2 separate regions of the Homo sapiens genome follow, and region 2 is linked to region 1. The links are contacts of gene promoters, found by promoter capture Hi-C in human tissues and cell types (Jung and others, 2019). All regions are on one chromosome and are shown on one strand. The core of a region is centred on a gene start or on the middle of the fragment in contact, and the rest is flanking DNA. Distances in the headings are between cores, read along the strand shown. Region 1 holds the start of PHYHIP (phytanoyl-CoA 2-hydroxylase interacting protein). Region 2 holds the start of RHOBTB2 (Rho related BTB domain containing 2).

Region 1 (3,707 bases), core at 102-2,601:
GCTGCCACCTTCCACATTCTAAGAATGCCCCACAGTTTTCCCTCTTCAATCTGTCACCTCCATGCACACCCAGACATGTTCATGTCCACAGGCTCACGCACACACACGTCCACGCACACCGCCTCACAAGCCATATGTGGGGAAAAGAGGATGCCACAGGCACCAACATGCATGTGTGCCACCTCCACAAGAAGGCACGCAACCCACACGCCTGCCGGCACACACATGTGTGTTCATACACACAGCAGCCCCCGCCCGAAGTCTGGTATTCTCTCTCGAATCATCTCCAGGCTCAAAGACAGACTTTGAAAATGTGTTTGCCTCTGGCCACACTCTGCCAGCCCTGAGCCTTCATGCCAACAGGTTTGTGCACCTACGTGGCTCTGCCCACAGACAATGGTTTCTGCCCCTTCTTCTCTTTACCCACTCCATCCTGCTCTGGGTCTCACCTCCCCATATAGAAAGCCCCTGTCTGCATACACTCCCACACACATGAAAAGGGACATGGTTACCCCTAAATATACTGCCTCATAGTGTCCCCACCCACGCACACCCACAGGCTACTCAAATAAGTCCCCCACACACATGTACCTCACGTGTGCCAGAAAGATATGTTTCTAGACATGCCTCACACCATTCAAAACCCACACATGAGCATGACTGCGGACAGACGGACCTATCTGCGCCAGCAAGCCTCCAGCCAACTCGCGAGCGCGCACACACACACGCCGCGCACACCGGTGCCCCTTCCCCATGCCCATTCAAACAGCCACCCTGCCACAGGGAATGCTTCCCCCACCCTGCTGTCCCTGTTGGCATCGCTGACTGCAGCAGAACGGTCACGGGGTGACTAACTGTGGTGCCCCAGAGACTGGATTCAGCCATTAACCACTTTGCCAAAGGCCTGGCCGGGGGGGGGGAGAGGGGACAAGGTCGTCAGGCCTGGCAGTCCAGGTGGGCACCCTGGGTGGTGGCAGGACCCTAGAGCCCCCAGATCCCGGCTACTCAGGATCAACAGCAGCAGGTTCCAGGGAGGAAGGGTACTCACCTGGCTCCACTGGGCTCTGCAGAGGAAAAGCTCGCAGGGAGGACAGGGAGAGACCTCTGCGTGGATGAGCTCCCCGGCAGGGGACAGCAGCCGGACGCCTGGGTCACGGGCAGTGGCGTGCGCTTGCTCCTCTCCCGGCTGCCAAGGAGGCTGCTTCCATGCCCCGCAGCCAGCTCCTGTCTGGCTGTGCAGCGCGTCGCTGCTGCCCCTGGTGAGACGATGTTCCCAGCTGAGCAGCGCAAGAAGAGAGGCAAGAGCGAAATCAAAGCAGCGTGGAGGAGAGAGAGGCAGAGAAGGGAGAAAGAACGAGAGAGCCAGACCGAATCTGCCTCCACCAATGGGATCAGCGGCTGCGCAGCGTCAGGTGATAATAAGCAGGCTTGGTCCCTGCTCGCCGGGCTGGTGGGAGGGGGAAAGGGCAGAGGGTCTCCCAGGGAGCTACACAGATGTCCTCAGGGACAGCAACACACGCCGCCTTTCCCCCATTCTTCCAGGACAAGCTGCCCTCAGAAGTCCCTCCAACACACCCCCTACTTGGAAATCTCTGACTTGAATGCAGCCCCCAAACTTTAGGATGCTGGGAGAGGGGTGGAGCTTAGCCAAGGGCTTGGGCCCCAAAGCAAAGACTCTGATTGGGGGAAGGGGAGGGAGGCTGTAGAGGGGAAAGGTCCAGATGGGGGGTGTGAAGCTGGGGTGGCTGTCTTCAGTCCGGAGCCTCTCCTTGGGGCCTTTTGGTGAACTGTGGTTCCATTTTCTTACCAACTCTAGAGAGAGATGGCAGACCTGCAGCTCAGGGATCCCTGTGGGTCTGGCAAGAACCCTCTGGCAGCTTGGGGGTCCACAGGAAAAGGGGCTGGGAGAGAGGCTGTGGCACAGTGCAGGGTGCACAGGGGTAAGAAAATGGGGGTGGGAGAACACACCAAGCTCTGAGTGTCCTCAGCCCACCCCACTCTCTGAGCACAAAGGAAGCCGGCCCTGGGCATCTTGGGGAGAGAATGTAATTCTGCTCTCACGGCAGCAGGAGGCTGTTCTGCCATCAAGAAGCAGACTCCGTGGAGGCCATCGGGAAGAACATCCAAGGAAATGTGAGTCCAGCAGCAAGCAGGGACAGAGGGTTGCGCAGTGGTGAAAAGCACAGGCTCACAGTCAGATGGATGTGCTGAGAATCCCTGCTCTACTGCTACCCAGCTGGGGGACCTTGGACAAGCCACTCAACCTCTCTTCATCTGTCAAGTGGGATCACACAGGTTTATTGTCATCATGGAATGAAATAATTAGGTAAATCGCCCAGCCCTGGGCCTGGCACATCAGAAGTGCCAGTCACATGTCAGAACTGTTCTTGTTCCCATCATATCGACAGCATCTTCCTGCAAGGAGCCCACAGTCCTCTACGGGAGAGAAGATGGCCATTTAGAGGATGCAATTAGAGAATGAGGAGCACACAACTAAATCGTAGGGCACAGATACTCATTCAGAGAAAGAACAATGGGCGGCTCCAGGGCACGTGCAGGGTGCAGGCCAGAGGAGGCTGTGGAAGCAGGAGTGCGGCTGGGGTGGGGAGGATTGGCACGGGGGCAGCTGACACCAGGCAGGCCCAGGGTGAGGTCTTGGTGAGCAGGAGAAGGTGTGAGCTGAGCCTAAGAAACACTCACCAAGAGGGAGTTGAGGCGGCAGGCCTCAGTGCAAAAGTCAGAGGAGGTAACAGCAGCAGAAAGTGAGAGTTCACAGAATGCAAAGACAAGCAGAAGCCAACCCTGCCTGAAACGGCTGTGAGAACCTCAGTGAGCCTGGCCAGGTCCTGAACTGCCGAATGTGGGGTGGTGCGTGGCACTGAGGCAGGACTAAGCACCCCCTTGGCCAAGCATGACTACGTCCTGCTCCGACATACCCACGCCGAGCTGGTGAGCTCAGAAGAGATGCAAAACGTAACCTCCTGGTGATGGCCAGCACATGACATCTGGACTACAATTCTGTCCCAGGCCGGGCGCAGTGGCTCACAAGAATCCGAACACTTTGGGAGACTGAGGCAGGCAGATCACCTGAGATCAGGAGTTCGAGACCAGCCTAGCTAACATGGCGAAACCCCATCTCTACTAAAAATATAAAAATTAGCTGGGTGTGGTGGTGGGCGCCTGTAATCCCAGCTACTTGGGAGGCTGAGGCACAAGAATCGCTTGAACCCGGGAGGTGGAGGTTGCAGTGAGCCAAGATTGCACCACTGCACTCCAGCCTGAGTGACAGAGTGAGATTGTGCCTCGAAAAATAAATAAATAAATAAATAATAAAATCCTGTCCCTAGGACCACACAGAGGGGCAGTGCAAGGAAAAAGGCAGGTTCTCTGTGACTTGGTTTCCCCTTCTGCCAAAGGAAAACTAGCCCCAGCACCATCCCTGCCTCCCACCTTCTCGGGATGTCATGAGGAGACTGCACGAGGTCCTGTGGCCCAAGCATGAGCAATAGCCATCTGAGCGCCCCTTTGTGGAGCTGCGTGCCGGCGACAGGTGAAGGCACAGCCCTTTAGGAGCTTCTGCCTCTTCTTGCCTCAGAGGACTTCTCTACAGATCACGAGAGGAAACACGTGGTAAGAGCAAACCATAGTGTGCCAAGTATAACTCACTCCCTATGAAACCAAACAACCGCCAAGATGCACTTCTGCTG
Region 2 (3,778 bases), core at 1-2,500, 770 kb after region 1:
TTTGCATTTTCAGAGCACAAGATGGAGGAGTGGTGGAGGCGGTTCAGGTGGGTGGCAGGCTGGTCTGGGCTTTAAAAATTGTCCAGAGGTAACTGAGGAGATGAATCAAACCAGACTGAGCTGACTACTTAACACTAGCAGTCAAGATCATCCTGGCTGGGCATGGTGGCTCACGCCTGTAATCCTAGTACTTTGGGAGGCCAAGGCAGGCAGATCACCCGAGGTCAGGAGTTCGAGACCAGCCTGGCCAAGGTGGTGAAACCCCGTCTCTACCAAAAATACATAAATTAGCTGGGAATAGTGGCGTGCACTTGTAGTCCCAGCTACTCGGGAGGCTGAGGCAGAACTGCTTGAACCCAAGAGGCGGAGGTTGCAGTGAACCAAGATTGCACCACTGCACTCCAGCCTGGGCAACAGAGGGAGACTCAAAAAAAAAAAAAAAAAAAAAAGATTATCCTGATAAAACCAGCCTTGAATATGGAAAGTGTCTTCTAGGGACCCCTCAGGTTATAGATGTTATACCTTAGAATCTCTCTATTTTACAGAGGGGTAAATTGAGGCAGAAAACCCAAAGAAGGCTTAGGGACGATTTTCGAGGCTACTCACTTCATGGTGTTTCTTTCAGAGATTAGCAGCTATTACTGAACTCCAGGAGGCAACAGGAGGGGGATGGGATGGAGGTGGGGACCCGCTGAAGAAGGCCTAGGTGGGAGACAGGTAACGTGGTACAGGTACCCACCCCACAACTCATTAAGGGCCATGGAGGGAGGAAGGCTCTCAAGTGCCACGAAAATTCCCAAAGCAGCAGAGGGCTTGTATGGAAACGCCGGTTATTCGTCCCTACCCGGCCCCCGCCCCCCGCCCCCCCGACTGCCCCTGCCGTCGCCTCCCCGTGGGCAAGTGGTGGGGGCCTGGGCTTACAACCACACGTTCTCCTCCAACTAGCATCCCTTCCAGGGTGCACTAGGATGCCTCTCAGAGGTTCTCCCCCGCCTCCCGAAGGAAAGGGGAAAACCCCGTGGGCGTCCGGAGAGCCTTTGCGCCTCGCCAGGTGGAGGGACCGGCGCCACCCAGACCCGCGAGCCGAGACCCTCCCCGCGGCGTCGCTGCGGGAGGGGCGGAAGAGCGCGGGCGGTGGGCGGGAGCGGTGCTGCGAGGCGGGATCTGCGGGGCGTCCAATCCCCTTCTTCCCCCGCCCGCCCCCTCCCCGCCCCCCGAACGCTTTCCACCAACTGCGCGCGGCAGTGGGCGGGGCCCGTCACGGCTGTCGTCTTGGGTGCGATTTTTTTCTCCTCCTTTTTTTACCCTCCCGTTTTTTTCTTTTCTTTTTTTTTTCCCTATCCTTTTTTTGTGAATGAAAAAAGGAGGTCGCGAGCGGTACCTGGGACTGCAGCGCCAGGCGTCTTCGCGGCAGCGCCTTCGCCGCGGGCCCGGGCGCGTAGCGGCGGCGGCCTCGCCCCTCTCCCGGCGCCCCTGCGCGCCGCCCGCTGCCTCCGCAGCCCGGCTCCGCGCGCCGCCGTGACATTGGGCGCCTGGCGCGCGGGGCGATGCTGATCCGGAAGGGGCAGCGGCTGCAGTGCAGCGCGCGCGTCCGCTCCTGGGCCCACGTCCGGCCTGGGCTGCCCTGCCGGAGTTTCTGAGTGGCCGCGAGCTGGCCGGGAGGCTGGAGCCCAGCAGCAGCGCGGCGGCGCCGGCGTCGTCCCAACTTGCAGGCGCGGAGGGACCCCTGACATTTCACTAAAATGAGCGTGCTCAGCAGGAAGAGATGTGTTCCTCACGCTAGAAGCCACCCCGTCACATGTAGTGGTGTAAGTAGATGGCTGCTTGCGGTTATGGCGGGGTGGCCAGCAGCCCTTGCAGACGCGCCGCTCCGCCCTCCCTGCCCTGCCGCGCCCCTCGCTACGTTCCCCGGGCCCCGCTAGTCCCTGGGCTCTGGCTTCGGCTGCTGGGTACAGCGGGGCTGGAGCCTAATCCTTTCCGGTGTTTCTAGGGAAAGGAAGATGACTTGATTGCTTCGGCCTGTCGTGCCCCTCCCCCTTCTCGATGTTTAAAAATTTTTAAATTTCTATTTTGTGTGTGTGCAGAGTAGCGTGTCAGAAAAAAGGAAAAACGGTCCAGAGTGGTGGGAGTGATTCTGTTAAGAAAACAAACACAAAACAACAGTGGAATTGGGGTGTTTTGCTGGCGGTTCCGGAGCTGGTTCTTTGAACTCAACTCCATTGCAGTCTATGTAACTGAGTTCTGTGAAACTACTGGGGAGATCTTTGGCGGTGTTTGGTGATGTGTCCACATTTTAGGTTTGAGGGGGCTTATCTGTGTTTAGGCTTGCATTTCTTTAATCTGACCATTCAGGGTCCCTTTGGGCCTTGCTTTCTGTTGGATCTGCACGGGGCTTCTTGCAATGCCAGCGACCCCCGTGGGAGCCTCCCCGAATTAGGAGTCCACTCTCTCTTTGTTCTTCTCCTTCCAATTCTCCATTCAATCCATCTCCCTTGATTTTACCTTCATTTTCAGGATTTTCCTCCCATTCCCATTTTGTAAGATGATGTGGGATACTGGTTGCTAGGAGACAAGCCAGGCTCCCAGGGAGATTCTGTTGTTTCCTTGACAACCAGACTAGGGCAGCCACAGATGAACAAGCCTCCTATCAGCTGTGGGAGGGAAAGGGGCCCTTTCTGAGCTCTGCAAAGAGTGTGTGTAGGGGTGTGGGGGTGGGACTGGGAGAGCACGAGGTTTGTAGCTAATTTCAGCACACCTTGGGTTTTGGCTTGCACCAAGTACAAAGAGCTGGGAGAGCGGTGGGCAGGAGGCTGTTTTTGGAGGGGCACAGGGATCATGGGACAGGGATGGAAGGAACACATGCCAGTGACTTTGCGATTGTCATGGAAGAGGAGTGAGTTGGGGGTTGTGATGCCCAGGGCTGGGTGGTGAGGAGGTCATAGTTTATGGAGGTTGATTGAGTGGGGATGAGGCAATTGTGAGGGAGAGTCTGGAGTCAGGGAAGAAGAGAGAGCCGGAGGGAGAGGGGAAGCTGAGAGGCTCACTGAATGGGCTGTATCACCATATATCAGCAATGAGTGGGCTGTATCACCATACATCAGCAATGATACAACATCAGCAACATCCTAGGGCAAAAATTATATTACTCTTGGCACACTCTCTCCAGGACAGGATCCTCCTTTAAGACAGGCCTGATTAGACTAAGAGTTCTAACACTTGAATTGGGCCAGTCTGTATCTTAAAGACAGATATAATTACACATATAGATATGCAATCTAGCATTATATAATACCACATTACATAAGAAGACAAATACCTCCTTTCAGCCCAGCCTCTCTTGGCACAAATTAACCACGGTTCAGGAGACTCTTCCAATGTCTTCATACCCATTTCCCAGAGGGGGAGACTGATGCCCAGAAAATATAAGTGACTTGCCTCTTCCTAGATAGGACAGTGAAGTTTGCCAGTCAGGCAGTTGGGACAGGGTAGAAAGGGTGAGATGATACAAACAGAGAGGCAGCTGAAGGACAAGGGGACTGCTGAAGGGGCTGGGGAATGGATGGAAGGGGTTGCGCAACCCAGAAGGTCTGATGTCTAAACTCATGGCACAGTATTTGTCAATTTCCACTTGTTGATTGGCTGACCACTGCTTAACTCTAGAGGTGACATAGCACAGGTGGGCAGCAGTGTTTTCATCACAAAGTAGCTGAACTTGGCCCAGCACTGCTCTGCTGGTGTTCTGGCATTATTCTCACTGTCAAGGTGCTCCTGAATTTGA

Evidence for each region. The method cuts DNA at HindIII sites, captures the fragments that hold promoters and counts their contacts. A contact is called where the count stands out against the background at its distance.
Region 2: a contact is called between the fragment with the promoter of RHOBTB2 here and the fragment with the promoter of PHYHIP in region 1, in 1 of the 25 tissues and cell types used here (small bowel).

Annotation. Positions count from the first base shown.
Region 1 is chr8:22,230,748-22,234,454 of GRCh38, forward strand. PHYHIP (phytanoyl-CoA 2-hydroxylase interacting protein) reads right to left here and starts at 1,352. Exons shown (of 5, transcript NM_014759.5): 1 at 1,049-1,352. RefSeq lists enhancers at 1-56, 982-1,729. The HindIII fragment of the contact is 22,356 bases long and covers 1-3,707 here.
Region 2 is chr8:22,998,298-23,002,075 of GRCh38, forward strand. It overlaps RHOBTB2 (Rho related BTB domain containing 2), which reads left to right and starts at 1,251. Exons shown (of 10, transcript NM_015178.3): 1 at 1,251-1,808. RHOBTB2-AS1 (RHOBTB2 antisense RNA 1) reads right to left here and starts at 1,508. Exons shown (of 2, transcript XR_007060857.1): 1 at 1,382-1,508. RefSeq lists silencers at 931-1,190, 1,411-1,580, 1,911-1,960. The HindIII fragment of the contact is 11,667 bases long and covers 1-2,626 here.